Regions from separate parts of the Homo sapiens genome. Here all the other regions are linked to region 1. The links are contacts of gene promoters, found by promoter capture Hi-C in blood cells and fetal thymus (Javierre and others, 2016). All regions are on one chromosome and are shown on one strand. The core of a region is centred on a gene start or on the middle of the fragment in contact, and the rest is flanking DNA. Distances in the headings are between cores, read along the strand shown.

Region 1 (3,259 bases), core at 575-3,074:
ATAAAAGGAATATTTGGAACTATTGGAGCAATTTAAATATGGATTGGATATGAGTTAAGGAATTATTACTAATTTTCATAGTTGTAATAAAAGCATCATGATTATGTAAAAAAATACAATGTGTTAGAAATGCATACTGGTATGTAAATGAAATTGATAGAATGTTAGTAATTATTATAGCTGAGTGTTCATTATTGTTCTTTATACTTTTGTATATATATTTGAAATTTTTCATCATAAAAAGTAAAAAATGAAAGAGCAGGTCAACTAAAAAGGAAAAAATAGAAATAAGGGGGAAAAAACATCTTACCATCCTGGGAATTCTTGTTTACAGAACCAAAGGCTATCTGGTGAAAGTCCTTGACTCCAGCAATCAATCCTGGCAACAAGTCTGGGTTTATCTCATGCACACGTCCTCTGTTTCTCTGCAACACATATGAAGCCCTCAGATGGCTTCCTAGGCGCAGGAAGTTGTGGGGGATTGTTTTTTCTGTTTAAAGCACTGATACTTAGCAACACTATCCTGCAATGAGACAGCAGAGTCATCCATTGCTGCCATCAAACCACAACTTAATAAGTTAATGGTCAAATTGCCTGTGTCCCACTGATGTTAGTAATGAAGTAGCTAACTACAATTTTAGATCAATGGAAACCCCTTGCTTGACCATAAACCCTGTGCTTCTGGAGACCATGTGTACTTTTGTCATTGTCAAAAACCAGTGATTGCCCGAGCTCGGTGGCTCACACCTGTAATCCCAGCACTTTGGGAGGCCAAGGCAGGCGGATCACGAGGTCAGGAGATCGAGACCATCCTGGCTAACACAGTGAAACCCTGTCTCTACTAAAAATACAAAAAAATTAGCTGGGCGTGGTGGTGGGCGCCTATAGTCCCAGTTACTTGGGAGGCTGAGGCAGGAGAATGGCGTGAACCCGGGAGGCGAAGCTTGCAATGAGCCGAGATCACACCACTGCACTCCAGCCTGAGCGACAGAGTAAGACTCCGTCTGAAAAAAAAAATTGTGCTAAGAAGCACATTTTCTCTCCTTTGTCTAAAAGTGAAACTTCAGGAAATTTTGACATTTAATTTTCCAGAGTGTTAATTTAATGAGTAGTTTCTAATTTTAAGCTCCTACCCCATCTTAATGTGAGAATTAGTGAAATAAATAACATTAAACCATTTTTTAATTTTGGGAGTAAAGACAATAAAAATATGAGGTATTGCTGCTTGAATTAGTAAAAACACAATTTAAACCTTGTTTCTTTCAGAAGTTTTGAGGCCAAAGACCGTAATAAAACAAACTCAGGAGCTTATTTCAAGAGAATACTGTCCTTGTCTCATACCTGTCCTTACTACTTTGTTTTGTGTGCTATTATAAGCTCCTCAACCATCTGACCAAGACAGTTGCAGTGATTTGGCTTCATCCATTCTCGTTTAGTGTGCAGTGCTATGGCTGCAACATTGTGAAATCAATTCCTAGAAGTCACAAAGCAAGAATTTGACGTGAAGGGATGTCCCTCATTTAGAATTCCCTTCTGGATAAGATACTGGGGTTTCATTGCAGGGAATTCTTGAGAGAAAACAATAGGAGGATGAGGGATTGTGAGTTGTGTTTTTTTTTTTTTTTCCTAAAGAAAACTATTAATAAAGGAACCCTGTTGACAGTGTAAAGCAGTGCTTCTCTCTGGGGCCAAGGCCAGAGCTGTGGACACCTTATCCCACTCATCCTCATCCTCTTCCTCTGATAAAGCCCCTACCAGTGCTGATAAAGTCTTTCTCGTGAGAGCCTAGAGGCCTTAAAAAAAAAAGTGCTTGAAAGAGAAGGGGACAAAGGAACACCAGTATTAAGAGGATTTTCCAGTGTTTCTGGCAGTTGGTCCAGAAGGATGCCTCCATTCCTGCTTCTCACCTGCCTCTTCATCACAGGCACCTCCGTGTCACCCGTGGGTGAGTCTCATGTCAAGAACTTGGCACAATGCACTTTTTGTTGTGGCAATTTGCTATAATGTACAGATGATTAAGAACTAGATTCCAGTACCTTAAATGCTAGCTCTAGAATCTTGTAAGAAAAGTCCCTAATAATCCTTGAAAATAGATTTCCCGAGAATTTCTGTTACATGTTCCATTTAGCCTCTTGCCTGGACTCCAAAATTTCCATGGATCTGCCATATCCCACAGCTTTCACTAGCTAAAGAGTTCCTGGAGTATGTGTAAAAATAATTCTATCTTCTTTGTGTTCTAGGCACTTTATAGTTCCAACTTGAAGAGCCAAAAAAAAAAAAATTAAAGTTGAGCATAGAATTTTTCTTTAATGAAGGCAAGGGACTGAAAGCTCTGTTGCCATGGGGGGCACAGATCTGGATAAACCAAACTCATTAGTCTTTATGTCAGAAAATAAGACTTTTTGCACAGATCGAGTGAATCTTAAATTGTCTCCCTCCTCAGGCTTGGTGCAAAACTGGCCAGTCAGGCAAAGAAAAGTTTCAATTCCAGTTACTAACAGATTTCTCTCTTGCATCTTTTTCTAGTAGAATGTGAGTACTAACTGGAACAGAGGGTGGGGGTGAGATGGAGAGAACCATCCTTCTTGACACTTTTGAGTAGCTCAGTATCTAATTGACCCTGGCTTATTTCTTCATGGTTGCTCTAGTACCTGAAAGGATACACATTAAAAATAGGCTTGTGGCCAGGCACGGTGGCTCACACTTGTAATGCCAGCATTTGAGAGGCCAAGGCGGGTGGATCACCTGAGGTCAGGAGTTCAAGACCAGCCTGGCCAACATGGTGAAACTCCGTCTCTACTAAAAATACATACACACAAAAAAATTAGATGGTCATGGTGTTGCATGCCTGTAATTCCAGCTACTTGGGAGGCTGAGGCGGGAGAATCACTTGAACTCGGGATGTGGAGGTTGCAGTGAGCCGAGATCGAACCACTGCACTCCAGCCTGGGCAACAGAGGGAGACTCCATCTCAAAAAAATAAAAATAAAAATAAAAATGGTGATTTGAGACCCTAAGGAGACCTGACACCTAAAGGTAATGTGGGATCCTGGAACAGAAAGATATGGGTGGAAACTAAGGGAATCTGAATAAGTGTGGACTTGAGTTAATAATCAGGTATCAATAGTGGGTCATTAATGTGACAAAGGTACCATGCCAATGTGTGGTAAATGTATGGCTAAAGGTAACGTGTCATAACAAGGGAAACTGGGTGTGGGGTATGTGGGATCTCTTTGTCCTATCATCTCAATTATGCTGT
Region 2 (3,121 bases), core at 121-2,620, 540 kb before region 1:
AAACATTTACAGAGTCACAGAACATTTTACTTTCTAGCTGTGTCATCCTGGGCATCCCTTACCTCAGAGATTTTCCTCACCCATAGAATAAAGATAATGATCTTTGCTCTGCATCCCTGACTGGCAGGCTCAAGTGAGAAGGCACAGGTGAAGGAGCTTCCTAAACTGCAAAGCCCTATGGGTATTATTGCCAATCACATTATCTGCGCCAACCCTCTAATCTTCCCGAGGAGGAAACCCAAGCTCAGGAAGGTCACGTGGTAGCCGTCAGGATGAGACTGGGCCCTTCGGAGTGCCTGTTATTCCCAGACGGTTTACTGAGTGGTGATCACAAGCACCACCCGGTGTCTCTCTCCCCTCTAGCGTGGATTAAGAAAAACTCCTTGGAAAACTTAGGTTAAAGAAAAAAGAAAGGGTTCCCGGGTGAAGCGAGGTGATGAGTTGTAAAGCCAGCTTCACTCTTCCCTCCCTGGCTCAGGAGGCTCCTGTCCAGGGCAACTCAGCAGCCTCGGCGTCCACATGGCTGACCGCCGCTGGACTCTTGCGGGCGATGGAGGACTGGCGGTGGCTGAGGTCAGCACCTCCCACCAGGCCACCCGCTCCGAATCTCATCATCGGGAGGAGTGAGGGGCCCGGCTTCAGGACAGTCCGAGGCGGCGGACTGGGGTGGGTGCAAAGGCCGGCTTGCATTTTGGGAGAGTGGTCCCTGACCCTCAGCCCGAGAGGTGAGAGGGAGTGAAGATACGGAAGCGCCTTTCCCTGGCGCCCGAAGAACAGAAATGTCTCCCTGTCTAGCGCCCATTCTCTCCCTTAAAGGAGTTATGTTTATTTTCCTGAACTGTAATATTTCCCAGGCCGGCGACTGGCCTGGGCTACCGAACGGCCCCTTGGGAAAAGTAGTTCGAGTTCACTTCCAGGTAAGTTCCCTTCGTCCCGGCTGCCAGCGCGTTTCATTCTCGGAGACCTCAAACCCCAGCGGGCTCCGCCAGCACCCCGAAAGCTGAAGTCCCGGCCGCCCGAGTCTCCAGACGGCTCGCATCCCGCAGAGGAACAAGAGGGAAAAACTACGCCTCCCAGCAGCCACCGCGCGCCTCAGTGCGCAGGCGTAGCCGCGCCTCGCCACCCCTCCCCCTCCCCCAACTGCTCCCGTCGGTCCGTTCCCGTGTTCCCCCCATCAGTTCTAATGTCCCCAGTCTCTCCGGCACCTCACACTCACCGCGAACTCGCGGCGTCGGATACAGCCGCTGTGCCTTCTCCAGGAAGCGGAGCGCCCGGTCGGGCTGGTTGCTCTGGATGGCCTTGAGGGCGATGCTGATACAGCGCTCAGCTTCATCCTTGTTGGATTCCATGGCGGAACCAGAACGCGGAACCAGGGAGGGGGAGGCCGGGCGAGCGAAGGGCTGCGCCACCCGCCGGCGCGTCGCGGGCAGCCGGGCGCGGAGTGATGACATCCACCCTCCGCCCCTCCTTTCCCGAGTTTTGAGCGAGGGTGGAAGTGCTACCGTATGTCTTCTAAGAAAGGGACGGCTGGTGTAGGTGTCAATAATGGTGCACGCCCAGATTCCATGTTCCGGAGGTCTTAGAGTTGAGTATGCGCCAACCCTCTAATCTTCCGGAGGAGGAAACCCAAGCTCAGGAAGGTCACGTGGTAGCCGTCGGGATGAGACTGGGGCCTTCGGAGTGCCTGTTATTCCCAGACGGTTTACTAAGTGGTGATCTATATACGTAATGTAACTACATACGTTTCAGACAAAGGTTATTTATTCACTGAACAGATATTGAGTGCCCACTGTTTGTGAGGCATGGTTTTATGATGGGGATACAGGGGTGAGCAAAACAAAGCTCCTGCTCTCATGGAGCTTACATTCCAGTGTGTGTAGGCTGGGGGAGCTCCAGATAGATTCAGATAGTGATAAAAGCTCTGAAGAAAAATTATGGAAAACACAGGGATAGAGAGTGGGAGGCGCTATTTTAAATAGCGCGATAAAAGAAACCTCTCAGAAGCTGTCATTAACAGGTACCAGAATTCAGGAACGATAACAGGTAGATGTGACTGTCTGGAGGAAGGGTGGTCAGGCCGAAGGAACAGCAAGTGCAAAGGCTCTGAAAAGGGAATTCTCTTGGTGAGTTATAACAGATCAGGAAGGCGAATACATTCTAGGGAGCGTAAAGATTCTACTACAGGCTGGGCGCGGTGGCTCACGCCTGTAATCCCAGCACTTTGAGAGGCCGAGGCGGGCGGATCACTTGAGGTCAGGAGTTCGAGACCAGCCTGACCAACATGGAGAAACCCCGTCTCTACTAAAAATACAAAATTAGCCGGGCATGGTGGCACATGGCCTGTAATCCCACCTACTCGGGAGGCTGAGGCGGGAGAATCGCTTGAACCTGGGAGGTGGAGGTTGCGGTGAGCCAAGATCACACCATTGCACTCCAGCCTGGGCAACAAGAGTGAAACGCCATCTAAAAAAAAAGAAGAAAAAAAAAAGATTCTACTACAGAGTGTAATCCAGTTCTATCATTATCCCGTTCTTCGAGGGCTATCACTCCAGTGAAAGCAATCTTGTGAAGGTTGCCAGTGACCTCCACGTTGCCGAATCCCCGAGTCATCTGTCAGCCCTTACATTGCTTGGCCTTTCAGGCAGGATTTGGTAAGATGCTACTACAGTAATCCGGATGAGAGTCAGGAAGCTACTATTATAATACAGGTGAAAATTAATGGTAACTTGGATAAGGGTGATGGCGGAGGTGGTGAGTAGTAGTAAAATTCTGGATATATTTTGAAGACAGAATGACGCAATGGATGTGGGCTGTGAGAGAAAGAAGATTCAAGGATGATTCCAATGTTTTTGGCTTGATAACTGGAAGAAGAGAATTTCTATTTACTAAAACAAGGAAATGGAAAAGACTACAAAAGCAGTTTGGTGGGGGAATATTAAGGGTTTGATTCAGTTTATGATGCTTTTTAGAATCAAGCAGAGATACAGACTAGGATGTTGTACATACGTAGGGTTTAGGCAAAAAGGACCTGGAAATATAACTTTGGGGCCAGGCACAGTGGCTCACTCCTATAATCCCAACATTTTGGGAGGCCAGGGGTGGGAGGATCACTTGAGGCAAG
Region 3 (3,448 bases), core at 265-2,764, 520 kb before region 1:
AGGATGATGAACAACAAATACTGGCTGTGGGGTAAGAGAGGGTGGTAATATAGTAAATAAAACAGAGGGGGCAGTACAGTTTTAGTTCAAATCCTGGTTTTGCCATCTACTATTATCTTTTTTTTTTTTTTTTTTTTTTTTTTGAGATAGAGTCTCGCTCTGTCGCCCAGGCTGGAGTGTTGTGGCACGATCTCTGCTCCCTGCTGCCTCCCGGGTTCAAGTGATTCTCTTGCCTCAGCCTCTCGAGTAGCTGGGATTTCAGGCACGCACCACTGTGCCTGGCTAATTTTTGTATTTTTAATAGAGACGGGGTTTCACCATGTTGGCCAGGCTGGTCTTGAGCTCCTGACCTCAGGTGATCCGCCTGCCTCAGCCTCCCAAATACTATTATCTTTGTGACCTTAGGAAATCTACTTAACCTCTCTGAGTCTCAGCTTTCTCATCAGTAAAAAGTGGTCAATAACAATACCTAGGTCAGAAGATTAAATGAGCAGATTAACTTTCTGGCTCATAGTAAGCATTGAAAAAGTGTAAGCATCCGTTGTTATTGTTGTTATTAGTATATCAGCTACCATACCTAAAAAATAATGCCAAGGTCAAACCAGAACCAGATCTCTTGAATGGGCTAAATGACAGAGCAGAGTGGCCACAGACACAACAGACCACTGTGTGGAGCTGGAATGCTATGGAGATGGAATGCAACTGGCTGGAATGTGCCCTGGGTGGTGGAGAGATCAGTACTGCCTTCTTTCTAAAGACACTCAGATACCTGAGTGCTCCGTATCCGCTAAGTAGCAAGTTGAGTCTGACATTTTTGTTTCCATTTTTAAGATGCTTATGGTCATAAATTAATTTAGGCCTATAGGCATATTGGAATTATAAGAAGAAGAAATGGAAAACAGAAGCCAGGGCCAGGGGTTCGATTTCTCAGTATCATCATGCCAAGGGCTGAGGTGCTAATGTGAGAAAGGTGGGTAGCTTGAAGAGGATGGGCTGGTACACAGATGCTGTCCGCAAGGCTCCATTATACACAAGGGCCTCTAAGGGCAGCTAGGCTGTTTCCCCTCCGGGCTCCAGAGGGCCCCACTCACCATCACAGTCAAAGAGTGCAAACACCACATCACACACGTGGTCTGAGAGCTCCACTTTAGCCACTGTCCTGGCCACCTGCTGCATGGTCACTGAAAAAAGAAAGAGGTGCATTAGCACAGCAGAGGGATTTTCATTTTGCTTTCTCTGATTCAGGGGATAAAACGACTCAGTCATAATACAAGTTTTCAACTGCATTTAAGTCACATTTAAGAAAATGATAAGTTAGGCTGGCCACAGTGGCTCATGCCTGTAATTCCAGCACTTTGGGAGGCCGAGGAGGGTGGATCACCTGAGGCCAGAACTTCAAGACCAGCCTGGCCAAGATGGTGAAACCCTGTCTCTACTAAAAATACAAAAAATTAGCCGGTGCCTGTAATCCCAGCTACTTGGGAGGCTGAGGCAGAGAATTGCTTGAACCCGAGAGGCGGAGGTTGCAGTGAGCTGAGATCACGCCACTGCTCTCCAGCCTGGGAGAGTGAGACTCCGTTTCAAAAAAAAAAAGAAAAAATGATAATTGAGTTTTTATTCATAAGCTCCCTCCTTTTCACCTCAAGTTCTGTTCTTTTCTACTGCTGCTACAGTTTAGGAGGTATATATAGTTAATTAAGAATGCCTAGGCTGGCCAGGCGCGGTGGCTCATACCTGTAATCCCAGCACTTTGGGATTCCGAGGCAACATGGCGAAACCCTGTCTCTACAAAAAATACAAAAAATTAGCCCGGCATGGTGGTGTGCACCAGCTACTTGGGAGGCTGAGGTGAGAGGATAGCTTGAGCCCAGGAGGCAGAGGTTTCAATGAGCTGAGATGGCGCCACTGTACTGGAGTAACACTCTATGTAACAGAGTGAGACACTGTCTCAAAAAATAAAAAGTGCCTGATATTCAATTTATAGACAGAAAGTAGATTAGAGGTTATTGTGGGCTGAGGGGAATGGGGAGTTACTGCTTTATGTATACAGAATTTCTGTCTGGGGTGATGGAAAAATTTTGAAAATAGTGATGATGGTTGTACAACATTGTGAATGTAATTAATGTAATTCCACTGACTTGTATATTTAAAAATGGTTATAATGGCACATTTTATGCCATATATATTTTTATATTTATATATATATTTATAGAAATATATAAATGGGTGGTGGGAACAAGGAGGCTTGTCTGTGGTGTGAGTACACTAAGGCTTCACGCCTTGGTGGGTGAATGACAGCTAAGTGCCTGCACAGTGAGCCCTCCCTGCCCAACTCTGTCCCTCCTCCCTACTGGTTTTGCACCAGACTTCTTCCAACTGAGCCCATTGGTATATGCACTGGCCCTTGTCTTAACAGTTCAGGATGCGTATCTTTCTTTTTTTTTTTGAGACAGAGTCTTACTCTGTCCGCCAGACTGGAGTGCAGTGGCACGATCTCGGCTCACTGCAACCACTGCCTTCCGGGTTCAAACAATTCTCCTGCTTCAGCCTCCCAAGTAGCTGGGACTACTGGTGCCTGCCATCACGCCTGGCTAATTTTTATATTTTTAGTAGAGATGGGGTTTCACCATGTTGGCCAGGGTGGTCTTGAACTCCTGACCTCAGGTGATCTGCCCACCTCGGCCTCTCAAAGTGCTGGGATTACAGGGGTGAGCCACCACACTCAGCGGGCCCGGCCAATAGTTCAGGATGCATATCTTTCTTTTAAAAAATATATATTTTTAGACCTCAGCAAAAAATCACTTTTCTCTTGCCGTTTTCTCTTTCCCAGACATTCACCGTCAAACACTAGCAATTATGTTAGAATTGGGTTCTCATGAAAGACAAGACAGGAAGGACGAGGCAATTTCCACTGCCTTCTCTCTCATTTATCCTCAAACCTGGTCTAGCTACACCTATAAATCATGTTATTGCTTCTGGACACATTCTTAAGTGAGGTAAAATATGAGGGAAAGAAAAGGATTAATTTCCATTTATGCTGGTAATGAAGAGCTCTCTATAATCATCACATTAGATTCATCCAGAAGCCAAGTGAACTTAAACTAGAACCACTGTGCCTTGTTTATCGCATTCCTATAATTTCAGTTCCTATTATCAGCCCATCTTGTCATTTTTTGCATTTGATCTTTCACTTTGCCTCTATCACCTCCATATATTTACCCGATACGGTTTAGATTTGTGCCCCCACCCAAATCTCATGTCAAATTGTAATTCCCAGGCCAGGCGTGGTGGCTTACACCTGTAATCCCAGCACTTTGGGAGGCCAAGGCTGATGGATCACCTGAGGTCAGGAGTTCGAGACCAGCCTGGCCAACATGGTGAAACCCTGTCTCTACTAAAATAAATACAAAAATTAGCTGGGCGTGGTGGTGCGCACCTATAGTCCAAG
Region 4 (3,140 bases), core at 12-2,511, 720 kb before region 1:
TACAATCAGAACTTGGGGCTTTTTACAATTTTCCTTACAACCAAAGACAACTATCCCATCTTCATTCTAAATCAGTTCAAAAGATAACTACAAATCCTACAACTACCCTTAAACATGAAAAATCCTAAATTATACACTAAAGCTTTTATATAAACATTTTCTTCTTCAGTGACTAATACTAACTGGAAAAAAAATCCTGCCTGAGGGAGTTAGGGGGATGCAGACCCATTACCCATTCTGCCCAGTGTAAGCCTCCATGTTACAATATGAGCAGAATTATGTAGTTTCTGCAGCTATAACTGATTCAGGTTCTCTAGGCAGCCTGAGAAATCCCCTGTTGCTTCAGATGGATCTATAAGCCTTCAAATGTTCCACTGCACATGGTTTTGAATTACCGTTTTTCATTACTGATGTGCTTTCTACTGGACCCTGCTGTGAGATAAAGTGGAATTATAGCAGCATTACTAGCTAAAAAATGATTGAGAGATATACAAGGTTGTAATATACTTCTTGAACTTGCAGGCAATGAGACATCTTTGAATCTTAATGCAAGAGACGAAAGAATGAAAAAATAAGGTGCAGCTTATCTGCAGATCACACAGATGAAGAATACCTTGCTAATGTCTGTGAGCAGCTAAATCCTACATTAAATACTCAAGATTAGGGAACTGAAGCACAGGGATGATAGTGATAATGTCTGCAGTCAAACAATATTTCTTATATAACAGATGAACACAAAGAAAGGTGACTTCAGGGAATGCTATCCTAAAAGGTAAATTCAGTTAACATGAAGAGCCAAGGGTGAGGTCAAGGACAAGTCTGCTACCAAACAAAGAGGAAAAAGAGGCTGACTGTTTTAAAGGAAGAAAGAATTATGTTCAAGGAAGGATGATCAGAAGGATAGAATGAGACCTGAGCATAGAAAAGTTGCCTGTTGTACCAAAAATGTGACCTTCACAACAACGTTTAACAATGAAAATTAATAGCTGTGATAGAATTCTCAGACTGACCCCTAATGACCTTTTACCCTGGTATAATCCAGGTTGTAGGTGGACCCTGTGGCTGTGATAATGTATGAATCCTACAAATTATATTATGTTCTATGGTACAGCGGACTTTAAGAGAGAGAGATTATCCCAATGAGACTAATCTATACCCATGAGCTGTTTAAAAAGCAGAGTCTTTGGCTGGTGGCAGAAGTCAGATCTGACACAAGAAGGATTTGGTGAAGCCAGAGCAGTCACGTGTCAAGGAAACGGCACTTTCAGACATATAGACACAAGGATCTGAATTCTGCCAACAACCTGAATGCACATGGAAGTTGATTCTTCCCAAGAGCCTCCAGATGAGATACCAGTCTGGTCAACATCTTGATTTTGGCCTTGTGAGACCCTAAGCAGACAACCCAGTCCAGCCCACTGGGTCTTCCGACCTGCAGTACTATGAAACTACCAGAGAACTGTGAGATGATACATGGGTGTGGTTTTAGGCTGCTACGATTGTGGTAATTTTTTACACAGCAATAGAAAACTCATAAGGTAGGGTAAACTATAACCTGATATTTCAACAGAATCTTTCATATCAGAGATCCCAAAAGCACTTGACGTATTTGACATAAGCTATAAAGAAAAATAAATTTACCTTCTCAAAAAAAGAAATAAACATTAATAATATCAATTTTTTTTTTCAGAAGATGAAGAGTCTCACCTTCTTAAGTCCTGAACCAGGACTGAAGGCAGACATCTTAATGAACGTGTCCTTAGATAATATCTGATCCATATGACACTTCTTTTCAACAATTCGGGAAGAGTATATGATTTGAATAATAACCCAAGCAAAAGTGGAAAGCTCTGCTGCTTGTTTTTGTTGTTGTTGTTGTTGTTTCCTGAGACAGGATCTTGCCTTGTTGTCCAGGCTGGCTAATTTTTGTATGTTTTGTAGACACAAGTTTTGGTTGCCCAGGCTGATCTCAAACTCTTGGGTTCAACTGATTCACCTGCCTTGGCCTCCCAAAGTGATGGGATTACAGGTGTGAGCCACTGCGCCCGGCCTGCTGCTCTTTTTTAAACCCTCAAATACTGTCCAAATTATTACCGAATTCCAGTCAAGGCTGTTCTCACTTGAAAATGCCTGCTGAAAGATTGGTATAGTTGGTTAGCAGTTGGTCAGTTGATTAGCAAGCAACCATCAAAATGTCTTCAATTGTTTAACAGGATATTTTTTTCCCATTCAAATAACTTTTCCTCAGTGACCCCTAGGACTGTCAACTATTTGTTCTATTGGATTAGAGCAGATGCTAGATCCTACGCAACTTCGTATCACTGCTCTACTTAACACTGTGGCATCCACTAGCTGTGGCACCTTAGGCAAGTTACTCTCTCTAAGCTTCCATTCCTTCATCAGTGAAATGAGATATAAATACCTACCTCATAGGGAGGGACTGAAGATTAAACAAAATGAACATAGGAGACATTTAGAACACTGTCTAGCAAAATACAAAGCTCAATACATATTTGCTATTTTATACATCACTCAATTATCAATTGAGTGAATAAAAACAGTGGGACACTCAGGCTAATTTACAATATTATAGATTACTAGCAGAAAAAAAATGCATGAACAGCAGCTTTATTCATAATATCCCATAAGTGGAAACAATCCAAATGTTCCAGTGGTGAAACTCAACTATTTTTAAAAAAACATAAAAATACTAATGACAGAAAAGAAAAATACTTTAAAAGAACCGGCCGGGTACGGTGGCTCACACCTGTAATCTCGGCATTTTAGGAGGCCAAGGCAGGTGGATCACTTGAGGTCAGGAGTTTGAAACCAGCCTGGCCAACATGGTGAAACCCCATCTCTACTAAAAATATACAAAAATTAGCCAGGCATGTTGGCACATGCCTATAATTCCAGCTAACCAGGAGGCTGAGGCATAAGAACTGCTTGAACCCAGGGAGCAGAGGTTGCAGTAAGCCAAGGTTGTGCCACTGCACTCCAGCCTGGGCAACAGAGCGAGACCCCGTCTTAAAAAGAAAAAAAGAAAAAAAAAAGAACCAAATGGAACTTCAAGAGATAAAAAAATAAAAGAGCTACCCAGGCACGGTGGATCACACCTGTAATCCCAGCACTTTGGTAGG

Evidence for each region. Contacts are between HindIII fragments. The CHiCAGO score rates a contact against its expected background, and 5 or more counts as called.
Region 2: the fragment with the promoter of DNAJB12 here is called in contact with the fragment with the promoter of OIT3 in region 1 in 8 of 17 cell types (erythroblasts, endothelial precursors, M2 macrophages and 5 more); the score reaches 12.6 in erythroblasts.
Region 3: a fragment that was not itself captured here is called in contact with the fragment with the promoter of OIT3 in region 1 in 11 of 17 cell types (total CD4 T cells, erythroblasts, endothelial precursors and 8 more); the score reaches 7.8 in total CD4 T cells.
Region 4: a fragment that was not itself captured here is called in contact with the fragment with the promoter of OIT3 in region 1 in 1 of 17 cell types (neutrophils); the score reaches 5.2 in neutrophils.

The regions. Positions count from the first base shown.
Region 1 is chr10:72,891,915-72,895,173 of GRCh38, forward strand. It overlaps OIT3 (oncoprotein induced transcript 3), which reads left to right and starts at 1,825. Exons shown (of 9, transcript NM_152635.3): 1 at 1,825-1,945. The coding sequence starts at 1,885. The HindIII fragment of the contact is 8,602 bases long and covers 942-3,259 here.
Region 2 is chr10:72,353,549-72,356,669 of GRCh38, forward strand. It overlaps DNAJB12 (DnaJ heat shock protein family (Hsp40) member B12), which reads right to left and starts at 1,371. Exons shown (of 9, transcript NM_017626.7): 1 at 1,217-1,371. The coding sequence starts at 1,349. RefSeq lists enhancers at 828-957, 1,348-1,597. The HindIII fragment of the contact is 22,726 bases long and covers 1-3,121 here.
Region 3 is chr10:72,374,692-72,378,139 of GRCh38, forward strand. MICU1 (mitochondrial calcium uptake 1) reads right to left here. Exons shown (of 12, transcript NM_001195518.2): 11 at 1,092-1,181. Among named protein-coding and RNA genes, the nearest start is that of DNAJB12, 21 kb to the left of the region's middle. The HindIII fragment of the contact is 6,523 bases long and covers 1-3,448 here.
Region 4 is chr10:72,177,250-72,180,389 of GRCh38, forward strand. All of the region lies in intron 5 of ASCC1 (activating signal cointegrator 1 complex subunit 1), which reads right to left. Among named protein-coding and RNA genes, the nearest start is that of ANAPC16, 37 kb to the right of the region's middle. The HindIII fragment of the contact is 2,243 bases long and covers 141-2,383 here.